Regions from separate parts of the Homo sapiens genome. Here regions 1, 2, 3, 4, 5 and 7 are each linked to region 6. Evidence: promoter capture Hi-C in 16 types of primary human blood cells and fetal thymus (Javierre and others, 2016). All regions are on one chromosome and are shown on one strand. Each heading gives the region's core, a stretch centred on a gene start or on the middle of the fragment in contact. The rest is flanking DNA. Distances are from core to core; before and after follow the strand shown. Region 1 overlaps NOD2 (nucleotide binding oligomerization domain containing 2). Region 2 overlaps ADCY7 (adenylate cyclase 7). Region 3 overlaps CYLD-AS1 (CYLD antisense RNA 1). Region 4 overlaps CYLD (CYLD lysine 63 deubiquitinase). Region 5 overlaps CYLD (CYLD lysine 63 deubiquitinase). Region 6 holds the start of NKD1 (NKD inhibitor of Wnt signaling pathway 1). Region 7 overlaps CYLD (CYLD lysine 63 deubiquitinase).

Region 1 (3,020 bases), core at 411-2,910, 170 kb before region 6:
ACATCCCCTGGGAAGCTTTTTAAAACTCCTGATACCTGGGCCTTGCACCTAGATATTTGCATTTCATCAGTCTGGGGTGGGAGGCCTGGCAATAGTGTTTAGAAGCTTCCAGGTGGTTTTAATATGCAGCTAAAGTACAGCCCTAGCGCCCCCTGAGGATCAGAGGGCTTCCTGTCACCAGCTCGTGGGCACTGTCCTCCCCTAGCCCCAACATCCCAAACTTCCTGTTTGTCAGGCATAGACCAAGTATGAAGGTGGCAGTCAAGGGCCGCCCACTCTCTCCCTGGCTTGTCCTCCCCACTGGAGCTGGGCTGCCTCTGGGGCCTCCTGGCTGAAGAGTTTCACCTGCCCCTAAATCCTCAAAAGTCCCAAGCCCCTCCATGCAGGTCCCTCTTCCTGGAATCCAACCTACCCCAGGAACTGCAAGGAGGTGTTGCCTCGGAGCCCCTCGGCCAGCACTTGGGCTCCCGCGGCAGTGATGTAGTTATTCCCCAGCCTGGAAGGGAAGACAGAGGAGGCTGAGAGAACACAGCGGCAGGCAGAAAAGGAGGGCCGTCTGTGCCCTGGCCAGGGAAACACAGGAAGAAAGCATTGAAGACCTGCCCGGGAGGCAGCAGCCACATCAGGTGCCCTCGCTGCTAGGTCTAGTTTACTCAGCGGCTCCCACAACTTCATTTTCCCCCAGCAAAGGGAAAGGGGCAGCGGGACGCTGTTTGCACAGCAGTGTGACAATTCCAGGCAGGAGCCACAGTAGGCAGCTGTCCTGGGAGGTGGTTTCCCCGGGACAGCGAGGGTGACTCAGGGTCACACCTTTCCCTCTGGTCTCAGCCGCCCTCGATCCAGACCCCATCGTGCCCTCTGCAGCCTTCCCAGATCTGTTGTTGCTACAGGTAGGCTTTACCTGTTGCACAAGAGCGCTGGGCAGGTCCAGGTGGCTGGAGGGAGGGGTGGGGCCCACTGAGCCTTCCAGAAAGGAAGGAGAGAGGGAGGGCCAAGGCTAGGGGTGGGGGAAGATCCCAGCAAGGAAGGCTCCTGCTGCAACTGAATCCAGACACCTCGGAGAGCTTCGGAGAAGCCCCAGAGCTCTCACCTGCAACCCTAGGCTTCCTGGGATAACTATACGCTTTCATTCTTTCAAGGAACGTCAAGCCACTCAGCTCACAACAATCCTATAAGGCAGATATTATTGTATCCTTGGAGAAGGGGTGTGGCAGCTAGGAGAACTCGCCTTTCAGGTCTCCAGCCTCAGCTCCTTGGAGGTAGCCAAGGGCCCCAGCTGCTGTGCTCCAAAATCTAACATCCTCGCATCTGCACTTGCCAGCCCCTGCCTGAGACATCAGGCTCCCCTGCCTGGTGAATTTGGTTCAAGAACTCCTCATCAGCCTTGCCAAGATGTCTTAGGACTGCACTGAAGTCCAAGGTGCCCAGTCTCAACCTTCCTTCCTTCCCTCTCTCCTTCACTCAGGGACACACCTCCCAGCCTCCCCCAGCTCCCTTCCCCACTTCCCCTTTTAGGACTTTTCCCCAATAAATGGGTGGCACATTGAATCCCTGCTTGGAGGACCGGACTCACATAAGGAGAAACAAGCTGAGTGCTTGTGTGATTTACCCATCATCTTTCAGCCACTCGCTTACTATATAAAGCCCCTGCCAGACGGTGCAGCCCTTCATGTGGATTAACTTGCTTGCTCATCACTACAGCCTGTGAGGTAGCCAGGGTTATTACCTCCATTCTACAGAAGGGGAAACGGAGGCACACAGACATTGGGCTGACCTGAGGTCACGCAGCTAATGAGGGTTCAAACCTCGGGCAGTCTGGCTCCAGAGCCTGTGCTCTCTATTACAATGATATACGGTAATCCCTGCCCCCTGCTTATCCGCAGCTTCGCCTTCTATGGTTTCAGTTATCTGAAATCAACTGCAGTCCAAAAATATTAAATGGAAAATTCTAGAGATAAACAATTCATACATTTTAAATTGCATGCTATTCTGATCACGTGCCATCCAGCTCCATCCCACCCAGGACGTGAATCAGCCCCCCGTCCAGCGCATCCACGCTCTATACGCTCCCATTTGGTAATCATCAAGATCGTCTGCTCCTGACATCCAGCTGCCGACCTCATTGTTGCTCAAAGATTAGGGATCTCTGGGAGCAGATGATTCTCCTCCTGAAGTGTGGTCAGGTCAACAGCAGCCCAGCGCTAGAGCACAGTGCTGCATGCGTCATCCACCTCACTTCCTCCCATCACACAGGCATTTTACCACCACACATCTTCCCAAGAAGAAGGGTGAGTACAGTACAAGAAGATATTTTGAGGGAGATGGAGAGAGTCCACATTCACATAGTGTTATTATAGTACATTGATTGTTATAATTGTTCTATTTTATTATGAGTTGCTATTACTCTCTTACTGTGCCTAATTTATAAACTACACTTTATTGCAGGTGTGTAGGTATTGGGAAAAGCATGGTATGTGTAGGGCTTGATACTCTCCATGGTTTCAGGCATCCACTGGGGTCTTAGAACATCTCTCCTGCACATACCGGAGGACTACTGTGTTGGCCACAAACTCAGCCTCCATTTCTGAAACTAGCACCCTTCTCAGGGATGGGCCAGCCAGGTCTGGCCACAGCCTATTCCAGGCTTGTGAGTCTGAGGGATCAGGCAGTGGTAGCAGGACTGAGTCCTTTGTACAAATTGGCACCTGTGGTTCTGATCTCAGTAGCCCTTGCCGAGACTGAGCTATGTGGCCCGCCATTTTAAAATGGCGGCTCCCATCCACAAACCCAGCCCAAGAGGTAAAAGAATAGATGGAAGCAATTCTTTACTTTGTCTTTTTTTACTGCCTCACAAATCACAGGAGGCAAGAATATCTGAGAGAGAGAGAAGGAGAGAGAAGCCAGGCCAACCCAGCGGCCAGCTAGAGGGGCAATTTAAAGGCATCAGGTAGGAGAGAGAGAGACTCCTGTTGAAACTGGGAGACACTGGAGTAGCAGAAATGCAGAACCAGATGGACTGC
Region 2 (2,907 bases), core at 363-2,862, 230 kb after region 6:
AATGAACGTTTGAGCACCAGACCCCCTCCGAACATGATCTGTCTCTTGGGTCCCTCATACAGAGAAATGCATCTTGGTATGTTTTGCCTCCCATAAGAGGAGAGTCACGGGATGCTTCAAAGAAAAAACTTCTTGAGTACAGTGGTGATGCCACTATAGAGTAATGCTGATGTGAATCCCAGGGACAGTTTTTTTGTTTTGTTTTCTTTGCATGTGTACATTTACTGTTCTTTGGGATGCCTCTATCTAAAGGAACCATGCTTTAGTATCTGGAACTTTGTTTTTCTTTTTAGCTGAACAAGTGACCAATAATCTTAAAGAACTTGCACAGCAAGTAACTCCAGGTGATATCGTAAGCACGTATGGAGTTCGAAAAGCAATGGGGATTTCCATTCCTTCCCCCGTCATGGAAAACAACTTTGTGGATTTGACAGAAGGTACGTGCCCTGTTTTCTCTGGGAAAGCAGAAAGCTATGGTGACTATAGTCATCCCTCAGTGTCTGCCCGAGATTGGTATCAGGACCTCGGATTTGGTATTTACCCCACAAAGATAGCAAAATCTGTAGATGCTCAAGTCCCTAACATAAAAGGTATTTGCCTATACCCTACACACAACCTCCAGTATACTTCAAATCATCTCTACTTATATACTTCATAGAATGTAGTTAATAGACTGTATTTTTTATATTTTTTTCATTGTTTGTTGTATTTTTTTAATTGGGTTTTTTCCCCAAATATTTTTAATTGGCAGTTGGTTGAATCTGCAGATGTGGAACCCATGGATAAGAAGGGTCAACTGTAAAAGGAACATTTATCTGTTTTTAATGTATAAACTACTCTTAGTTTTCTTTTTATCTTGTCTAAAGAATTAATAAAGATTTCCTGTGTGCAGAAGAGCCACAATGATCACCTGATAATGCGCGTAGTCTTCAGCCTTGGATGTGGTGAAGAAGGGCTCTCAGCAGTTATGCTTCTGGATGGCAGCTTGACTTTCATGTCCCCTTTTTAATTAAAAGGTAAAAACAATGTTGAATTAAGTGATGTCTTTTTCTTTCAGACACTGAAGAACCTAAAAAGACGGATGTTGCTGAGTGTGGACCTGGTGGAAGTTGAGGCTGCCTGGTATTTGATTATATATTATGTACATACTTTTTCATTCTTAACTTAGAAATGCTTTTCAGAAGATATTAAATATTTGTAAATTGTGTTTTTAATTAAACTTTGGAACAGCGAATTTGGATGTTCCAGAGGTTGGACTTGTATTAGGTAATAAAGCTGGACCTGGGACTCGTGAGGAAGGAATGTGCTTGGGGCTGTTGCCATACCTGTGCAGCATTCTTTCAAAATAGTGCCTTCCAATGCTTCTTCCTTATGTCCCACAGACAGGATCATCACTAAGAAGCGTTCTTAAAACGGCCCCATCCAGTGAGATTTTCCGTTATACGAACATACTTGAAATAATTTTAGAATTTACTACTGTGGTTCTGCCCCTGCATACCCAGTGGGAATGATGCCCTTGTATGGGTAATTAGGCACCTCCCACCCACCCCTGACAAAAGCACACTGGGAGTTTTATAGCACTGTCACATGGCTAGTGTTCTTTTTTGGTTTTTTCCGTTTTTTAAAGAAAGAGGAGTTACTTAGTACTATAGCAAAGTAATAAGCCAAATAAGATAAACTAAGTCATCCTTGAATAGATCAGGGAATTACCAGATTACCAAAAGGTGACATTTCTACTTTACTTACTGTTTATCTGAAATACAAAGGTCAAGTACCCAAGGAGTTGAACTCTAAGTAGGAGACCACAAGATTCATGGCCCCCTTTTATCAGCAAGCTGAGATAAATGGTGATTTTGCTGAATCGGTATAGAACCTGTTATACACAAGGGAAAAAAATCAGGATGGAGATAGATAGATAGATAGCCTTGTTCAGTGAACAAATTAAGTTTGAAGGCCCTTATACAATCCTTCTATAAATCACCCAGGCAGGAAGCCATTTGATTTCTATTATTTTCCTGACTTTGAAAATTAATTAGTATTTAGGAAGAACAAATAGGGTAAAGGAAAATTAATTCCCTCAAAAGACTTAAAATCTTATGCTAAAAGAGTCAAATTTTCAAGTTGTTTGAGTCTACTTTTAATCTCTAGTGAGTTCATGAGGACCACGAAAATAAAATACCTTCAGATATTTGAGTTTTTCAAATTGCTAATTTAATGTATAAAAAGCAGCTAAACACTGGTACTTTATAAAAATGAAACAGCATTTTGAAACAAATGTTACAGATCTATAAATATTCATTATATAGAATAAACCCTAGTTACTTGCATGCACCACCTCAAATCATATTTCTTTACACTGACCTATTATATACACAAAGTATACAGTGGTTAATGATCTTCTCTTCTGTTTGTTTGTTTGTTTGTTTGTTAGGAAATTTCCTCAATAAGCCAGAAAACCTTAGGTATTATTTTCACAAAAGTTAACTCAGGAGAAATTGTAAGGAAGTCCTTGACCCATGGAGAAGGTCACTGTTTGTTTGTTTGTTAGATACGTGTGTCTGTCATAAAACAAAATGACACCAGTAATTACTTGGTAATTTAAAAACAAGTTCATAAAAAGAAAATACCTGCAGGTAATTTTTATGGTCAGTTATATTCTATAACCTGAACACTGAAAACTAAAAACTTTTACTTACAAACTATTATTATCTGAGCACAGCACAGTGCTTTGCTTTAATTGGAAATAAAAATGCATGAGTGAGTGGTAGTCAGTTATTTGTTAAACTCCCAACTGGGGTTTCTGTTGTTACTGAAGAAAAAAACAAATATTCCAAGAGTACAAATATGCTGACCTCAGAGAGGCCCAGTGCACTAATGTGTTTCTATGTTATATTAGCAACAGAAACC
Region 3 (2,796 bases), core at 1-2,500, 190 kb before region 6:
CTGGTCTCAAACTCCTGACCTCAAGTGATCTGCCTGCGTCAGCCTCCCAAAGTGCTGGGATTACAGGCATGAGCCAATGTGCCCGGCCTATTTTTGTGTCCTTTCTGTTGATGGTGTTTGGTGCTGCTGAGGTCTCTACTTCCATAGGGCTTTCGTCCCCAGGCTCTGTCCTGTCATACGTTCACTGAATCAGTGCCGGGGCCTGACTTCATCTAAGGGATCTTCATCCAAGTCAAGCCTGACAAATGGGGCTTATCTCAATTATCATTTCCTATCAATTGGGAATGGCTGCTTAGAACATTGCGTTAAAGCTAATTCTGAACTTATATTCAGGCTCACCGGGAAGAGAGATATCTGCCAGGGGATAAGATGGGGAGATAGTGTCATGGTGCTATTATTTGCAGTCCTTGGTGAACCAGCCTCTCATTTTACAGGTAGTAGATGAAGGCCCAAAGACAGTAAATTACAAGCCCCTGTCACTCAGGAGATGGGCCGAGACCCTGATTCCAAGCCAAGACTCTTTCCACCTCTGTTAAAATGGATTCCCCAACTGAAATGCTCATCATCTCTGCCTTCCAAATCCTCCCTTCATGGAGGACCTAGTCAAAGTCCTTTACAGACATGTCTTCACAGAGGGCTCCAGCCCTCACTAATGACCTCTCTCAATCCACCACCCCACAGCCTCTTCCATCCAGCCTGGTCCTGGGTTCATGGAACTAGCGGTTGTGTTACTGAGCAGGTTCCAGGAAACATAGCAGTGTACAAGAGAGATGCCACACTCCCTCTGGCAAAAAAAAAAAAAAAAAAAAAGGCAAACTAAAATACTCATTAGATGATCACTTACTTAATTATGGCTGTGGTAAGCCTCAGAAGAAGAATCTCTCTGAGCATGCCTAAAGGGAGGTTGGCCACTCAGGGAAGGCCTGTTTGAGGAAGTCACCTTTGAGATGAGATGGGAAAGATAACTGGCAGGCAGGAGTGAGGGGGAACACTCCAGAAATAGGAAACAGGAAAGTGCATGACCTGTTGAAGAAACTGGAAGAGGCAGAGCGCAGACAATGAAGGCACAAAAGAGCCTTGGGAGCCAAGGACAGGGGTTGTTCTCCATCCCAAGAGCAATGGGAAGTTGTGAAGGGTTTTGCAGGGAACATAACACTGGTTCTTTTTTTGTTTTTTGTTTTTTGTTTGAGATGGGGTCTCACTCTGTTGCCTAGGCTGGAGTACAGTGGCACAATCATAGCTCACTGCAGCCCCCGTCTCCTGGGCTCAAGTGATCCTCCCACCTCAGTCTCCTGAGCAGCTGAGACTACAGGTACGCACCACCATGCCCAGCTAACTTTTCTCTTTTGAGTAGAGATGAGGGTCTCACCATGTTGCCCAGGCTGGTCTTGAACTCCTGGCTTCAAGTGATCCTCCTGCTTTTGCCTCCCAAAGTGCTGGGATTACAGGCATGAGCCACTGTGCCTGACCTAACACTGATTCTAAGCTGTCTTATGTAGTTCTCTCATTGCACACAGCGGGACCCTAACATAAAGCTATTGAATTGAATGGAGCTTTCCCCACGGAGGACGGTGAACTCCAGGTAGCCTGCTAGGGGCATGGGACATAGAGTAACACACCGTCAGGACTCAAGGGAACCTGCTCAGTGGCACCGGTCATGATTATTGACTAGACCCTGCTCCATGCTTCCCAGTGCCTACCACGGGGTACCTCCTACTTGCAGTCTCTCCAAATTTGGTGTCTCTTTTATATCCTACTGCCTTCTCAGCATCTCCACTCAACACAGCCAAAAGCGAACTCCTGATATTCACCACCACCACCCCCTGCAATCCCTCTGCACTCCCCATCTTAGTAAATGGCAACTCCCAGATGTCCATCCAACCTCCCATGGTTCCAGCCATTTTCCCACTAATCCTGTGAATATGGGCATTCAGAATGAACACCAGGCCAAGTGGCTAACTGGACCAGGTATCCGCACAAGCAAGGATACGTCACAGGCGCTTTCTCCACAGTAGCCCAGCACAGTGTTTTGATCCATGGATAACGGGCTGAGGTCTTCCATCTCTGAGATGTGCTTATCTCTTAGGGAAGGGAAATTCCAAGTGCAACTGAACATTCTGTCTGAGGACTTTTACTCTGACCACCTAAAAGCTCTTTTTGATAAGATAAAGGGGATTACTTTAATCATCTTTAAACTAATCCAGCCGAACTATAAATCCATGCTCTCCCATTTGAGCTATTTGCTGGTATCAATGACAAATAATTTCTATGTTTGATTTTTAAAACACACACAGAAAGCTCTTTATTAAAGGGAACTTTCTGCTACATCTGGATCCCATTTTGGGCAGTTGATGCATTAGGGATTGTTCCATGTCCCAGGGAATCTTCCTCCTTTACCAAGGAGACACAAATGATGTCAGAAAAAGGGTGACTCATTCTTATAAGCTGCCCCAACTTCTATTTTCTGCCCCCTTTAATAAAGAAAGTGGATCCTTCCTTCATTCAACAAATATGTATTGAGCACCTACTATGTGCTAGGCACCTTTGTAGACTCTGAGGACACTGCAGTGAGCGTGGTTCCTGTTCTCAAGAAGCTGACATTCTAGGGGAGGGGAAAAATGACCATGCATCAGGTAGTTCATGCAGAGAAGACAATACAAAGGAAGGCAGGCAGTGGCTGGAAACTGCTATTTAGGTAGATTGTTCAGGGAAGGACTACCTCATGTAGGTGGCATTTGAACTAAGACTGGAAGGAAATGAAGAAGCCAACCACACCACTGTCTCAGGGAACAGTGT
Region 4 (2,838 bases), core at 232-2,731, 210 kb before region 6:
ATCTATTAAAACTAAAAGAATACAACAGCATAAAAATTTTATAAATCCTGCAAGGCAAAAAGCACCAAAGTCAAAAACATCACACCAAGTGAAATGCACCAGCTCCAAAGGACATATGTATGATTCCACTAATATGAGATACCCAGAGTAAGCAAAGTCATAAGGACAGAGAGCAGAGAACAGAGATGAGCAGAGGCTGGAGGGAAAGAGGAACCGGCAGCTATCTCTTCATGAGTATAGAGTTTCTATTTGGGATAATGAACAAGATTTCTGGAAATAGATAGTGGTGATGGTTGCACAACTGTAAACATACTTACACTGAATTATACACTTAAAAATTGTTAAAATGGTACATCCTGTTAGGTATATTTTACCACAATAAAAACAAATGAGGGTGACCAGAAAAATAAGCAATTTTAAAAAAAGACAAATGACAAATGAGGGTGGAAGAGTGGGCAACATTTGCATCTCGCATCACAGAAGAGTTTGCCACCCTAACACATGAAGAAATCAGTGAGAAAAAAGGCCAATAACCTAACCCAATTTAAAAATAGGCAACAGATGCAAACAGTTCACAGAAAGAAAAATTGCCCTTAATCATATGCAAAAATGTTCAACATCACTCAGAGAAATGCAAATTTCTATTTGCAAATGTATTATATACACTGAAATATATTTTTTATCTATCAGATTGGGAAAAAAGTTAGTAACACACTCTCATGGGAAAGCTATAAGTTCCCCCTTGTATTCTACTGGCAGGAATATAAATTGTTATATCTACGACTGAAGGCAATTAACAATATCCAGAACAATACCAACGCATACGCCCTTTCATCAAGCAACTCCACTTCTGGGAATATATATATCCTCCAGATATGCTAGCACATGTGGGAAACAGACATGTACAGGTTACGGTAACATTGTGTGCAATATCAAAAAGTCAGAAACAACCCAAATGTCCATTGATAGGAAACTGGTTAAATAAATTATGAAATTTTTTTCCGTACAATGGAAAATTATACACTATAAAAAACAAGAACCTCTGTTTGCAAATATACAAAGAGTTCTAACATATAAAATTAAGAGAATAAAGCAAACAGCAGAATAGTGTATCTACTACACTTCTTGAATTAAAAGGGAAGGGGGAATAAGAATATTTATATTGTATAAAGAAACACTGGAAAGATATATAAGAAATTCATAAAAACTGTGACTAGTGAGAAACGAAGGATGGAGTAAGCAGGCAACTGAGGCAGAGGGGATAAAAATGGAAATGAGATATTTTATTGTACTTTTTAATTTTGATTTGAGATACATGAATGATTTCTTCTTAAAATTGTTTTAATAACTTGATAGAGGTTTCTAATTCAAGGGTATATATATATTAGTTAGAACCCAAATAAATCCATATGTATGTCATTATATGTGTGACTTCTATCTGAAATGAAAAAGAAAACCCTAAATACTTATCTCTAGTTAATTAGATGCACACTGAAGTATTTAGGAGGAAGTGAACTGGTATCTGCAACTTAATGTGAAATGCACAAGAAAACGTGACGGATAAGTACGTGAATAGAGAGGTGGACAGATACATATAAAGCAAGTAAGATGTTGATTGTAGGATCTAGATGATATGCATAAGGATGCTCAATATAAAATTTTCAGTTTTTCTGTTTAAAATGTCATAACAAAACATTAAAAGATGTTTTATTAAAATTCTAAAACTAGAGAACTCATGAATCAATAAATGAGCAACTCAACAGAAAAACAGGCAAAAAATACGTGTTTAATAGAAGACACAAATGTTGTATAAACATATAAAAGGCTGTTCAATCCTACTTGTAATCAGGGAACTACAAACTTTTAAACCACCTTGAGATACCATTTCTCAGCTGTCAGGCTGGCAAAAATTTTAATCAGTACCAAGTGTGGAAAAGGAGGTGGAAACAACCTAAAACCCAAGCGTCCATTAATATTACAATGGGCACCAAACTGTGGGATAGTCACATGACGAAATATACTATGAAGCAGTGAGAGTGAACAAACTACTAATGCCCTCATCCACAGAAAAGAATCTCAAAATACATTTTAAGTAAATGATGCAAGTAATTTAAAAATCAGTAAGATTTTAACTACATTAAGTTCAAAAGCAGGCTAAACAGTATATTGTTTAGCTACAGAGATATAATTAAATTATAAAAAGCAAGGAAATAATTAATGAAAAAATCAGAATAATGGTCACCTCTAGGGAGAGATTGCAATTATAATGAAAACAAGGTATTGCAGGTGGTTTTCAAGGTACTTCTAATGTTCTGTTTCTTAACCTAGATGGTCAGTTTCATGAGTGTTCATTATTATTCTTAATATATGTTGTTATATATACTTTTGCAAATACATTCTACAGTAAAAAGTTTCTTTTTTGAGATGGAGTCTCGCTCTGTCACCCAGGTTGGAGTGCAATGGCACAATCTCAGCTCACTGCAACCTCCACCTCCCAGGTTCAAGCGATTCTCCTGGCCTCAGCCTCCTGAGTAGCTGGGACTACAGGTGACCGCCACCACGCCTGGCTAATTTTTGTATTTTTAGTAGAGACGGGGGGGTTCGCCATGTTGGCCAAGCTGGTCTCGAACTCCTGACCTCACGTGATCTGCCCACTTCGGCTTCCTAAAGTGCTGAGATTACAGGAATAAGCCACTGCACCCAGCCAAAAGTTTCTTAAATATGAAAATGATGAGCACATTGCCCATTTTTAAGGATTAAACATGAATTCGTATAATATTAACATAAACATTCAAATGAAATTGTTTAATAGCTAACTCAATTTTAACATGATCAAAA
Region 5 (3,219 bases), core at 640-3,139, 230 kb before region 6:
AGAAAGAGAAAAGCTGATGGCAAATTTGCTTGATTTACTAAATTCTGTTTAATATAAGGAGCCTAAATCGATTGGCCTAAAAATCAACTTTCATTCCTTGAACATAAATCAACTAACATTAGGACAAGTGGGTCGCAAGCTTCAGGGGCGGCAAAGGGAAGTCAGAAAACATGGTGAGAAAATTATTCTGCAGTGATAGCTTTTCTGACAAATATAACAGTTTGTCAAAAAGCATATAATAGGGCGAAATCTGCACAAAACCTCACAGAGAAAAAAATTGAAATTTTTGGGTCAAGTTAAATTACCAGTTCCAGTCCAGCGAGCACTTCATTCAGTCCTGGTGGCTGACCGATCCAACGGATTACCCCATAGAAAGGAGGGTTCTCCTTAACTTCAGCCAATGAGCCCACTTCTAGACCATGTGAGTTCCCAGGAGGCATGGCCAAGGGTGGACTCTCTTGGACGGGTGCAGTGTTTAGCTCTTCCATTACAGACTGGGCTGACAGAGAAAGTGGACTGTGGCCAATACTTCCATTGGTATTGGGCATCTTGGTGAGACTGAATGGTAAAGAGTGGAATCTGTTCTCGGTGGTCAGTGAGTTCACAGGAGGAGGCTGGAGTGGTGGTGAAGAACGGTCAAAGTCTGTAGATATCTCTGTAAGAGATTTTGCAGGGTCTTCTGCAACTAAAAAATTATTCCTAATTACAGAAATGTATTCAAGGATATTGACTCTGTCTTACATTTCTAAAAATTTATATACAGATCTAGTCCAACTGCCCACCTGACCTCCCTGCTATTAATAGTACTCTCATAGGCATCACAAAGTTATTATCTCCAACAGTGTTCTCGCTCCTCTCTCCACCTCCATATTTATGCACCTCAGTCAATGGCACCCAACTGTTCAAACCAAAAAAATCTATTATCAGCGGGTATCGTATACGTGATAGTCTTTGTCCAAAATACAATTAATTGAGAAGGCAGTACAAAAAGATACCGAAAACCTTAAGAAACGCTTCTATATATCTAATGGATCAAAAAAGAAATAATACGTTTTAACAATAAAGAAAAAAGAGAGAAAAAGTAACAAAGAAAGAAAGAATCCTTGTGAAACATGGCTAAATTAATACTTATAAGGGAATTTTATAGACTTCATTGCTTATTTCAGAAAAAAACAAAAGCTAAATATGAACTCAGCATACAACTTGGGAAGTTAAAAGAACAGAATAACCCTCAAAAAAGTAGAGAAGAATAAACTAAAGAACAGAAACAACAGAAGAGAGAAAACAAACATACAATAAGAAGTTCAAAGCCAGAATAAACACAAACACAGAATGTAATTTAAGAGAAACCAAACACATGATAAAGAGAGCCACAGCCAAAAGCTATTTTCTTAAAATGACTAATACAGCTGACAGGCAGGTATTGCAGATCAATGACAAAAGAATGAACTTCTTACTAAATGCTGTTGAGATAATTGGTTATCCATATTTTTAAAAAAAAATTAAACAGGAATCCTACTCATACTTTACATGAAAATCAGCTCCAGGTGCCTTAAAAACAAATGTGGCAGGCAAAACTCTAAAGGCTGGGAGACCACAGAGTCAGGCCTGTTTGCCTTTCCATTCTCATCTCATGAATGTCATGCCTCTGTCTGTGTTCTAGTCCCTGGCAAACACTAGCTTCCATTCTTCCAGGAGGACTTTCCCTATGCTATTTCTTCTCCCGAGGAAGTTCTAGCCCCTTTCACTTTGTCATCTGTCACTCCTCTGGTAAACCTAAGCATGTGTCACTGCCCCAAAGAAACACCCCTAAGACCCTGAGAAAAATCATCTTTGGTGTATTCTCACAGCATCATGCACCTTCACTGCACACACCACCAAGGCAACTCTACTGTGTCTGTGGTTGTTTGACTAATTTCTATCTCAACAACTTAACAACTGCAAACTCACAAAGGGCATGAACCATGTCTATTTTTTCTCACCATTTTCATCTTGATGCCTAAAAGAATGCCTGGCAATCATAAGCACTCAATAAATATTTGTTGAACAAATGAACAAAGAAGAGAATAAACTAGGTGAAAATGATGTCCCAGGACCAAGGGAAGATAAAATTTTTTAAAAGGGAGTGCTTTAAAGAGGTCAGGAAGGAACCAGACAGAAATCTTCCACCCTAAATAGATCAGCAGTTAAAGGAAAAGAACAAATTACTAATACATTTCTTAAACATTTTAATAATCTTAACAGCAGTACGGTTCAAACTGTGTACAATATTTTAGTTCAGCAATATTACAAAGAGCGGTCTACTTATTCTGTTTCCAAAAACTACAAATATTGATATAAAAAACCATTTTTCTCTGATGAGTTAGAAAGAAAGGATCATTATAAAGAACACTAAAATTACTGATTACCTTCATCAATGTACCATGTATTTTTTGATTTGGATTGTGGTTGTGAGTCAACAGAAGACCCATTTAAGGTATAAAATAATTCAGATCTGTTTCTATTTCCAGGGTCTGAGGTAGATCCTATAGGAACAAGAAAAGTTTCATTTAAAAATAAAGTCAATATAGCATCAAAGTTTTTTTTTAGTAAGAGAAATTATTATGAATATGATGTTAATAACTGTTTACATAACCAATAAATGTATATAAACACAATATGTTTTTTAACTGTCTTCAGCTTTTAAAAATTTGGTAACCATTTTGACAATATTAAAAATATTTTTCAGCCCAAAAGTCAAGATAGGAGGGAAACAGGAGTAAGTTAAAAGAAAAGCCCACTCATTTTTAAAAAAAATGAACTGCTTTAAGAAATTGTTCCATGTACCACAGCTTATTTCTAAATGTCAAAATCACCATTCTCCAGCTTCATTTCATAGACCCATTGGTTCACAAATTTAACCTATTATTTTAAAAGAAGGTAATCCTCAAATTCTATATATAAATCAATACACAAATTACATTTAAAAATAGTTAAGTTTTAAACATTTTGGAATTTTTGGTCATCAAATTCCTTGTGTCTTTGAAAAAATCAAGCACTATTATTTCTTACAGATTGGATTTATTATACGTGAGAGGGCGAGTGTAGCTATGCCACAGCCATTTCATGACATTACCCTGCCTCAGTATTAATTCAAGGACATACCACACACAGTGGAGGGCAGTGGGCTCTCCAGAACCCACAAAAAAGCTGATTTCCCTTTTCAAATTAAAGCAGGTA
Region 6 (2,976 bases), core at 44-2,543:
GGGCAGCTGAGAAGAGATTTTCAGACCCAGAAGCTGTGCAGGAAAGTGCTCAAAGTTGGGGTGCATGGGTTTGGGGACCCATCTCTGAGGCTGAAAGGAGGCCAGGAGGTGGGGCAGGGGTGGGGAATCATACCCGGGTGCTTCGGCCTATGGTGCCCGCCAACCGCAGCTGTCGGGGTCCCGAGACACCGCCCGGGCAGCGCTGTCTCCCGATCCACTCCTCGATGCCCTTCCGAGCCCAGGCAGCGCTCACGGCGAAGCTGTCACCTGGGACGGGGACGACATGAAGCCCCTGAGTCTGGCTCCAGGTGCCAAAAGTTACCCCCGCGGAGGGAAGAAGGAGGCGCGGTGGGAGGCGAAGGACCACGGCACGGGGGCCAGGAGGGGGTTCGCGGGCTGGGGCAGGAGCCAAGAGAGGGACGCGGGTAAGTAAAGGGGGGTTCAGCGAAGCCCTAGGAGCGAGGAGCCAGAAGGGGGCAAGAGGGGTGAGCAGTACCCCAGGAGGACGGGTTTAGGATCAGACCAGGGAGCACTGGCAGCCAGGACTGCGGAGGAGAGGGCTGGGGGTCAGGAGAGGGGCCGCAGTAGGTGCAGGAGCCAGGATATCGGAAGAAGGGCCGGGGGGCAGGAAGAGGGGGCAGGGTCTTGCGGGGAGGCGCTTGGGGGTCTGAAGAGAGGGTGCCGTGAGAGCCGAGGGCAGGGACGCGGGAGGGGGAGGGGTTGAGGGTCAGCGGTGGGAGCGCAGGACCGCGGGGAGCGGGTAGGAGGGACAGAGGAGGGGGCGCGAAGGCTGCTCAGGGAGCGGGCTTGGGGGGCCGGTGGCCGGAACTGGGGCTTCGGGGTGGCCCTGGTCATAAGACCTGGCGGGCTGGGCCGTTCTGCCGCGGCCGCGGTGTCCCCCGCGTCCATCCCCGAGGTCTGCGCCCCGCGCGCCCCTACCTTCCGGGCTCTCCCTGCGCTTGCACACGGCGGCTGCAGGCACATCGCGAGGCGGCGGCGGCGGCGGCAGCCGCGGCGGCGGGAGAAGGAAAGAAAGGAAGGGAGAGAGTTAGCGACCGCGGCGGCGACGGCGGCGGGGCCCGGGGCGAGCGCGCGGGCGGGGGCACTGACCCGGCTTGGAGTGAAGTTTCCCCATGCTGGGGCTGCGGCGGCCGGGAGCGTCCCTAAGCCATGCGCCCGGCCCGCGGGCCTGGCGCCTCCCTTGGCTCTCCTCCTCCCGAAGCAGCCCCCGAGCCGAGCGGAGCCCGAGGCGGCGCCGGGACGCGCTCCTGCCGCCGTCGCCGCGGCCCGACTGACGCCCGGGAGCGCCGAGCCCCCAGCCCGCCGCCGCGGCCCGCGCCTCCCCGCGCGCCCATTGGCCGGTGCGGCGCATCAAAGGCAAGGCTGGTTGCGGCGGGGGCGGGGCCGGAGGCGGGGCAGGGCGGGGACGAGGGCGGGGCGCTGACGGGAGGGGCGGGACACAGTCCGCGCTCCCTGCCGCGGTCTGGGGCCGGGGGCCGAGCTCCAGGGCTGGCGACCCGGCGGGGCGGCTTGTCCAGGAGGCGTATTGGGACAGAACAGCCCGGCCATCGCTAACTGTACTGTCACTTCCCTCCGCTCCACGTTCTCTCTAAACGGGCAGGGCGGGACTCGGCGGCTCCAATTTACAGGTGGGGAAACTGAGGTCGGGAGCGGAGACCTTAGCTGCTCAGGTGCAAGCTTCGGCAGCGCTGCCTTTTCCCAGTCTTCCCACGACCTACCTTCTGCAGAAAGTGTTCATTACCCGCCCCGTGACCCGCCCCCCACCACCGCACTCCTCTAGTTTCTTATTTGGGGAGTCCAGGAGGAGCCCCCAGCGCACCCCGGGCCAGTGTGAGCCCAGCCCTCTCCAGGCAGCGACAAATGTCCAAAGCGCCCCGTTATCAGCCAGTCTCTGGGATCTCCTCGTCCGGGGGCCCGTGGGTGCCCGCCCGGGTCGGGGCGCGCTGCCAAACTGCGCGGCCCGGAAGGGGGTAACCGCTGAGTCTTTGATCTTCCTTGGTTTCCGCTCCCCGCTGCAGTTCGCCAGACCCAAGGGTTTGTTTGTTTTGTCTGGGGAGGTCTCTGCGGGGAGGTCGCGCGGGGGGAGGGGGATGGTGGCGGTCGACATCAAGGGATTCCACCCCACCTTTGTGGCTCTCAGAACGCCTGCCCCCTTCTGGGGACACTGTGGGTCCGTGTTACGCTCGTCCTGGCACCAGGCAGCTCTGGCGTGGGAAAAGAAAACCCGCAGCTCAGAGTGAGACCAGCCCCGACCTTTGGAGTGAATTACCTGTGCTCAGTTTTGTGATCTGTATAATGGAGGCTCCATTCTGCCCTTTTTGCCGACTCTCTAGAGCAGCACTGCCCAATAGAAATATAATGTGGGCCACATTTGTAATTTTAAATTTTCTTGTCGCCACATCTTTTAGAAGTAAAAAGAAATAGATGAAATATTAATAATATATTTCGCTTAACTCAATACAGTCAGCCCTCCTTATTCACAGGTTCCACATCTGTGGCATCAACCATCTGTGGACTGAAAATATGCAAAAAGAATAATACAGCAAAAATAAAGAATAAAAAACTTTTTAATATAGTATAACAACTATTTACATAACATTTACATTGTATTAGGAATTACAAGGAATCTAGAGATGATTTAAAGTATTCAGAAGGATGTGTGTAGGTTATATGCAAATACTACAGGACATTTTATATAGCGGACTTGACATCTGGGGATTTGGGTATCCTCTAGGATCCTGGAACCAGTCCCCAAAGACACCAAGGGAACACCATATATCCAAAATAGTATAATTTCAAGATATAATGAGATATTTTACATTCTTTGTATTGCGCTAAGTCTTTAAAATTCAGTGTGTATTTTACACTTAAAACACATCTCAAAGACTAGCCATATTGCAAGTGACCATTTGCACTTGGCTAGTGGCTACTGCATTGGGCAGCATCGCTCTGGAA
Region 7 (3,224 bases), core at 476-2,975, 250 kb before region 6:
AGTGTACAGAGCAAGTGACAGAAACAGGGCTAGAATGCAGGTCTCTCGTCCCTACTCTGCCACTTTTTCTGTCACAGCACACCACCTCCCAAAGCTTCCCCTAGACCTGTCACCCTTACCCTTCAGCTAAGTAGCCTTTAATAGATATTCTGTCGTTAAAACTAGGTAGGGCAGGGACACATTTCATATTCCCTCTGATACAATCCTAGGCACCTAGTAAGTGTCCGATAAATACTTCTTGGTTGGCAGTTACTCAGCAAAAGTCTAATACTTTATCCTCCACTCACATCTCAGTCTACAATCATCCAAGCAGATGCAAAATTATCTGGCCAGATAATTTTCAAGATCCAGCTATAGAGGGTAGTGAATCCTGAATCTATGAAGATGCCATGTTCAAACAAGCAGGAATTTGGGTGACAACACAGTTCTATAAGATTAATGGAATCTTAATCTTCCATACTATCTCTCCCCCTTGTTCTCAAAATCTGTGAAAAAAAATAATAAAGGAATCCTAGGGATAGGAAGAATCTGGCCATTTATCTACAGCATTTGGCAAACAGAAATTTTTAAAAATCCTAAATTATTCTAAGGAGAAAATCCTTAGCAACAGTAACAACATATTTAGTTGATTTTTGTTGCTGTTTATCCTAGTTTTCAACGTGTTTTCCTAGTCTTATAAAACATTCTTCTGTGGATGGAGTCAAACTCCTTTATAAAGCTGACAGTGAGGGATGGGACACATTTAGCCTCTCTATGTATGATAACACTGCTCTCCTTCCCCACTCTCTCCCTCTCCGCCACATACATATATACACACACACAGACACACACATATTTATTTGGAGGTGAGGAACATGACATATTTTCTACTTGTAATCATGAATCATGAATCACGAACCGTGTTATAAATAAGATAATTCAATTACATTGTCATCTTGATTGTAGATAAGGAATAAAAGATAACCAAAACCTTTAAATAGCCAACAGGAAAATATTAAAGAAAACTTAAGGCTGAAAATTAAATAACCAGCAGGCACATAAGCCCCTGTGCCATGCAGCCCAGCCCCAACTATGTGCCTCTTGACAAACCAGGCTGTGCTGAAGCACAGAACAGTAGGGGGCTACCCAGAGGGAGCCAGGACAGACAGGTGCAGGGGAAACCTTCCTGCTGCCTCATGACATGCAGAAGCAGGGAAGGACGCAGCCTCCCCAGGAACCACCAGAGCTGGCCCTGGCATCCCTTAATGAGCACTCCCTCCCCAAGTAACATTAAAAAGACGTCAAGCTCCACCTGAAGAAGACGTTGCCAGAAATCATTTATGGATGAGGCCCTCCCATTTAACAGTCTCCACACCTGACTTTTGAAACCAGGTGTCCATCCAAACAGGTCTTCTTCAAGTTCTCTACCATGACAGCCTGGGTAGCAGAGCTTCCTCAATTTGTATTTTGTTTTAATTTCTACAGGAAAGGAACTGTCTTCTCTCTCCTTTTTTTTTTTTTTTTCCAACTGTTAAATCCAGTCTTACCTAGATCGTCAGCCCTTAGTATCTGCAGGGGTTTGGTTCCAGGATCCCTGCAGATACCAACATCTGAAGATGCTCAATTCCCTGATACAAAATGGTACAGAATTTGCATATAACTGACACACATCCTCCTGTATATTTTAATTAAATAATCTCTAGATTACTTATAATACCTAATAAATGTAAATGCTACATAAAGAGTTCTTGTATTGTTCAGAGAATAATGACAAGAAAAAAGTCTGTACATGTTCAATACGGATGTAACCATCCTTTTTTTAAAAAAAATCGTATTTTCCATTTGCAGTTGGTTGAATCCATGGATGAGAAACCTGCAGATACCGAGGGCTGGCTTCATTTAGATTCCTAATCATTCCTCCAGGTAGTCAATTTTTTAAAATCACATTGACAAGCTCATTCACCCATTTCTTCATTCAACACATATTTATTACAGGGTGATTGGACTTCTAGGCTGTCAGAGCTAGAAAAGGCCTTATGCATCTTTTACCCCACACCCTTCATTTTACCCAAGGGAGATGGAGGCAGGGCTAGCCCTAAACCCAGAGTCTCTCAGCCTCACCCCTGATCTAATCATCATCTCACCACCCCAACCAAGCACTTAGCAGTATAAAACCTTGTGCAAAATATATGTACTTTTTCACTTCAAAAATGAAAATATTACAAGATGAGTTTTTGTACCTTACTGTAATTTATAAAGCTAGTAAATATTAGCAAAATGGAATGATAAAACCAAAGAGTAAAAGTGCCTTTAAAAAAGTAATTGCAGGGTTTGTAAAGATTCTTTCCACTTTTTGTCACATTAAATATTTTATAAAGTCATATGACATATACATATGATGACTTTTCTGCCTTTCTGCACAGTTAGAAAGTCATTCAGGAAAGACAATGATACCACAAAACAACACTCAGAGAATGCACATTCCACAGCACTGACATGTATCATCTATGGTCCTGGTCTACAACATCCGCTGTGGTCTAAACACACACTATGGCTGTTATTAAACAAAACATCCCATTTCTACTTACTTTAATCAGAAGGAGGATGAAGCTGCTGCTAACATTTCGATAACATATCTGATTCTATCAAGTGAAACTACACTGAATTTAATGGGAGTACTGGCTGACAGATCAAACTTAAGTTCTAGACAGTCTTGTCTAAAATAATAGAGGTTTAAATATCCATCTCTCCCAGGAAATTGTAATAATTCTATATGCCAAATTCATTTTCTTATGGACTGTATGTTTGTAAAGGACTATTATCACTCCAATTCTTTCATCAATTTACTTTGCCCCATTCCATAAAATATTAATAGTTAAAAGCCTTAAAAAACCTGTTAGCTGACAGTAACTACTATGAATGAAGAGCTTCAACTGCTAAATACCCTAATCCTCCAGGAAAATCACTTCAAAAATGGACATTTGGGGACAGAATCACTCATTTATCTCAAAACCAGAACAAATAGAAAACAACACCATTAAGGGAATTTAAGTATTTTTCTGACCACTATTGCAGAAACACAGAAAAACTGAGCAGATTGTAGACATGCAAGATCAGCAGTATATAGAAAGGATTAACAAATCAAACTCAGTACATCTCTAATAACTGGATTGAGAGTAGACTCTTAATAAAACCAAATTATTTCTTCCTCAAGGCAACCGTTAGCTACAAAAGAAAAATGATTT

Evidence for each region. Contacts are between HindIII fragments. The CHiCAGO score rates a contact against its expected background, and 5 or more counts as called.
Region 1: a fragment that was not itself captured here is called in contact with the fragment with the promoter of NKD1 in region 6 in 4 of 17 cell types (non-activated CD4 T cells, total CD4 T cells, naive CD4 T cells and 1 more); the score reaches 9.2 in non-activated CD4 T cells.
Region 2: a fragment that was not itself captured here is called in contact with the fragment with the promoter of NKD1 in region 6 in 4 of 17 cell types (non-activated CD4 T cells, naive CD4 T cells, naive CD8 T cells and 1 more); the score reaches 6.9 in non-activated CD4 T cells.
Region 3: a contact is called between a fragment that was not itself captured here and the fragment with the promoter of NKD1 in region 6, in 10 of 17 cell types (non-activated CD4 T cells, total B cells, naive CD8 T cells and 7 more). The highest score is 14.6, in non-activated CD4 T cells.
Region 4: a contact is called between a fragment that was not itself captured here and the fragment with the promoter of NKD1 in region 6, in 8 of 17 cell types (non-activated CD4 T cells, naive CD8 T cells, total CD4 T cells and 5 more). The highest score is 14.3, in non-activated CD4 T cells.
Region 5: a fragment that was not itself captured here is called in contact with the fragment with the promoter of NKD1 in region 6 in 7 of 17 cell types (non-activated CD4 T cells, activated CD4 T cells, total CD8 T cells and 4 more); the score reaches 9.2 in non-activated CD4 T cells.
Region 7: a fragment that was not itself captured here is called in contact with the fragment with the promoter of NKD1 in region 6 in 9 of 17 cell types (non-activated CD4 T cells, activated CD4 T cells, naive CD4 T cells and 6 more); the score reaches 15.5 in non-activated CD4 T cells.

The regions. Positions count from the first base shown.
Region 1 is chr16:50,717,401-50,720,420 of GRCh38, reverse strand. NOD2 (nucleotide binding oligomerization domain containing 2) reads right to left here. Exons shown (of 12, transcript NM_001370466.1): 7 at 413-496. Among named protein-coding and RNA genes, the nearest start is that of CYLD, 23 kb to the left of the region's middle. The HindIII fragment of the contact is 3,105 bases long and covers 108-3,020 here.
Region 2 is chr16:50,317,417-50,320,323 of GRCh38, reverse strand. It overlaps ADCY7 (adenylate cyclase 7), which reads right to left. Exons shown (of 26, transcript NM_001114.5): 26 at 2,189-2,907. BRD7 (bromodomain containing 7) reads left to right here. Exons shown (of 17, transcript NM_013263.5): 15 at 1-76; 16 at 294-437; 17 at 1,058-2,907. The coding sequence ends at 1,113. Among named protein-coding and RNA genes, the nearest start is that of MIR6771, 26 kb to the right of the region's middle. RefSeq lists an enhancer at 31-1,230. The HindIII fragment of the contact is 7,497 bases long and covers 1-2,907 here.
Region 3 is chr16:50,737,384-50,740,179 of GRCh38, reverse strand. The region is part of intron 3 of CYLD-AS1 (CYLD antisense RNA 1); the gene reads left to right. Among named protein-coding and RNA genes, the nearest start is that of CYLD, 3.3 kb to the left of the region's middle. The HindIII fragment of the contact is 5,372 bases long and covers 1-2,796 here.
Region 4 is chr16:50,758,825-50,761,662 of GRCh38, reverse strand. The region is part of intron 5 of CYLD (CYLD lysine 63 deubiquitinase); the gene reads right to left. Among named protein-coding and RNA genes, the nearest start is that of CYLD-AS1, 17 kb to the right of the region's middle. The HindIII fragment of the contact is 8,236 bases long and covers 1-2,838 here.
Region 5 is chr16:50,777,131-50,780,349 of GRCh38, reverse strand. CYLD (CYLD lysine 63 deubiquitinase) reads right to left here. Exons shown (of 19, transcript NM_001378743.1): 8 at 2,409-2,525; 9 at 306-685. Among named protein-coding and RNA genes, the nearest start is that of CYLD-AS2, 25 kb to the left of the region's middle. RefSeq lists a silencer at 1,745-1,904. The HindIII fragment of the contact is 3,496 bases long and covers 142-3,219 here.
Region 6 is chr16:50,546,713-50,549,688 of GRCh38, reverse strand. NKD1 (NKD inhibitor of Wnt signaling pathway 1) reads right to left here and starts at 1,293. Exons shown (of 10, transcript NM_033119.5): 1 at 1,111-1,293; 2 at 940-972; 3 at 134-267. The coding sequence starts at 1,135. RefSeq lists silencers at 971-1,160, 1,201-1,650. The HindIII fragment of the contact is 5,196 bases long and covers 1-1,700 here.
Region 7 is chr16:50,796,894-50,800,117 of GRCh38, reverse strand. It overlaps CYLD (CYLD lysine 63 deubiquitinase), which reads right to left. Exons shown (of 19, transcript NM_001378743.1): 19 at 1-3,224. The region is part of intron 2 of CYLD-AS2 (CYLD antisense RNA 2); the gene reads left to right. Among named protein-coding and RNA genes, the nearest start is that of CYLD-AS2, 4.8 kb to the left of the region's middle. The HindIII fragment of the contact is 3,258 bases long and covers 97-3,224 here.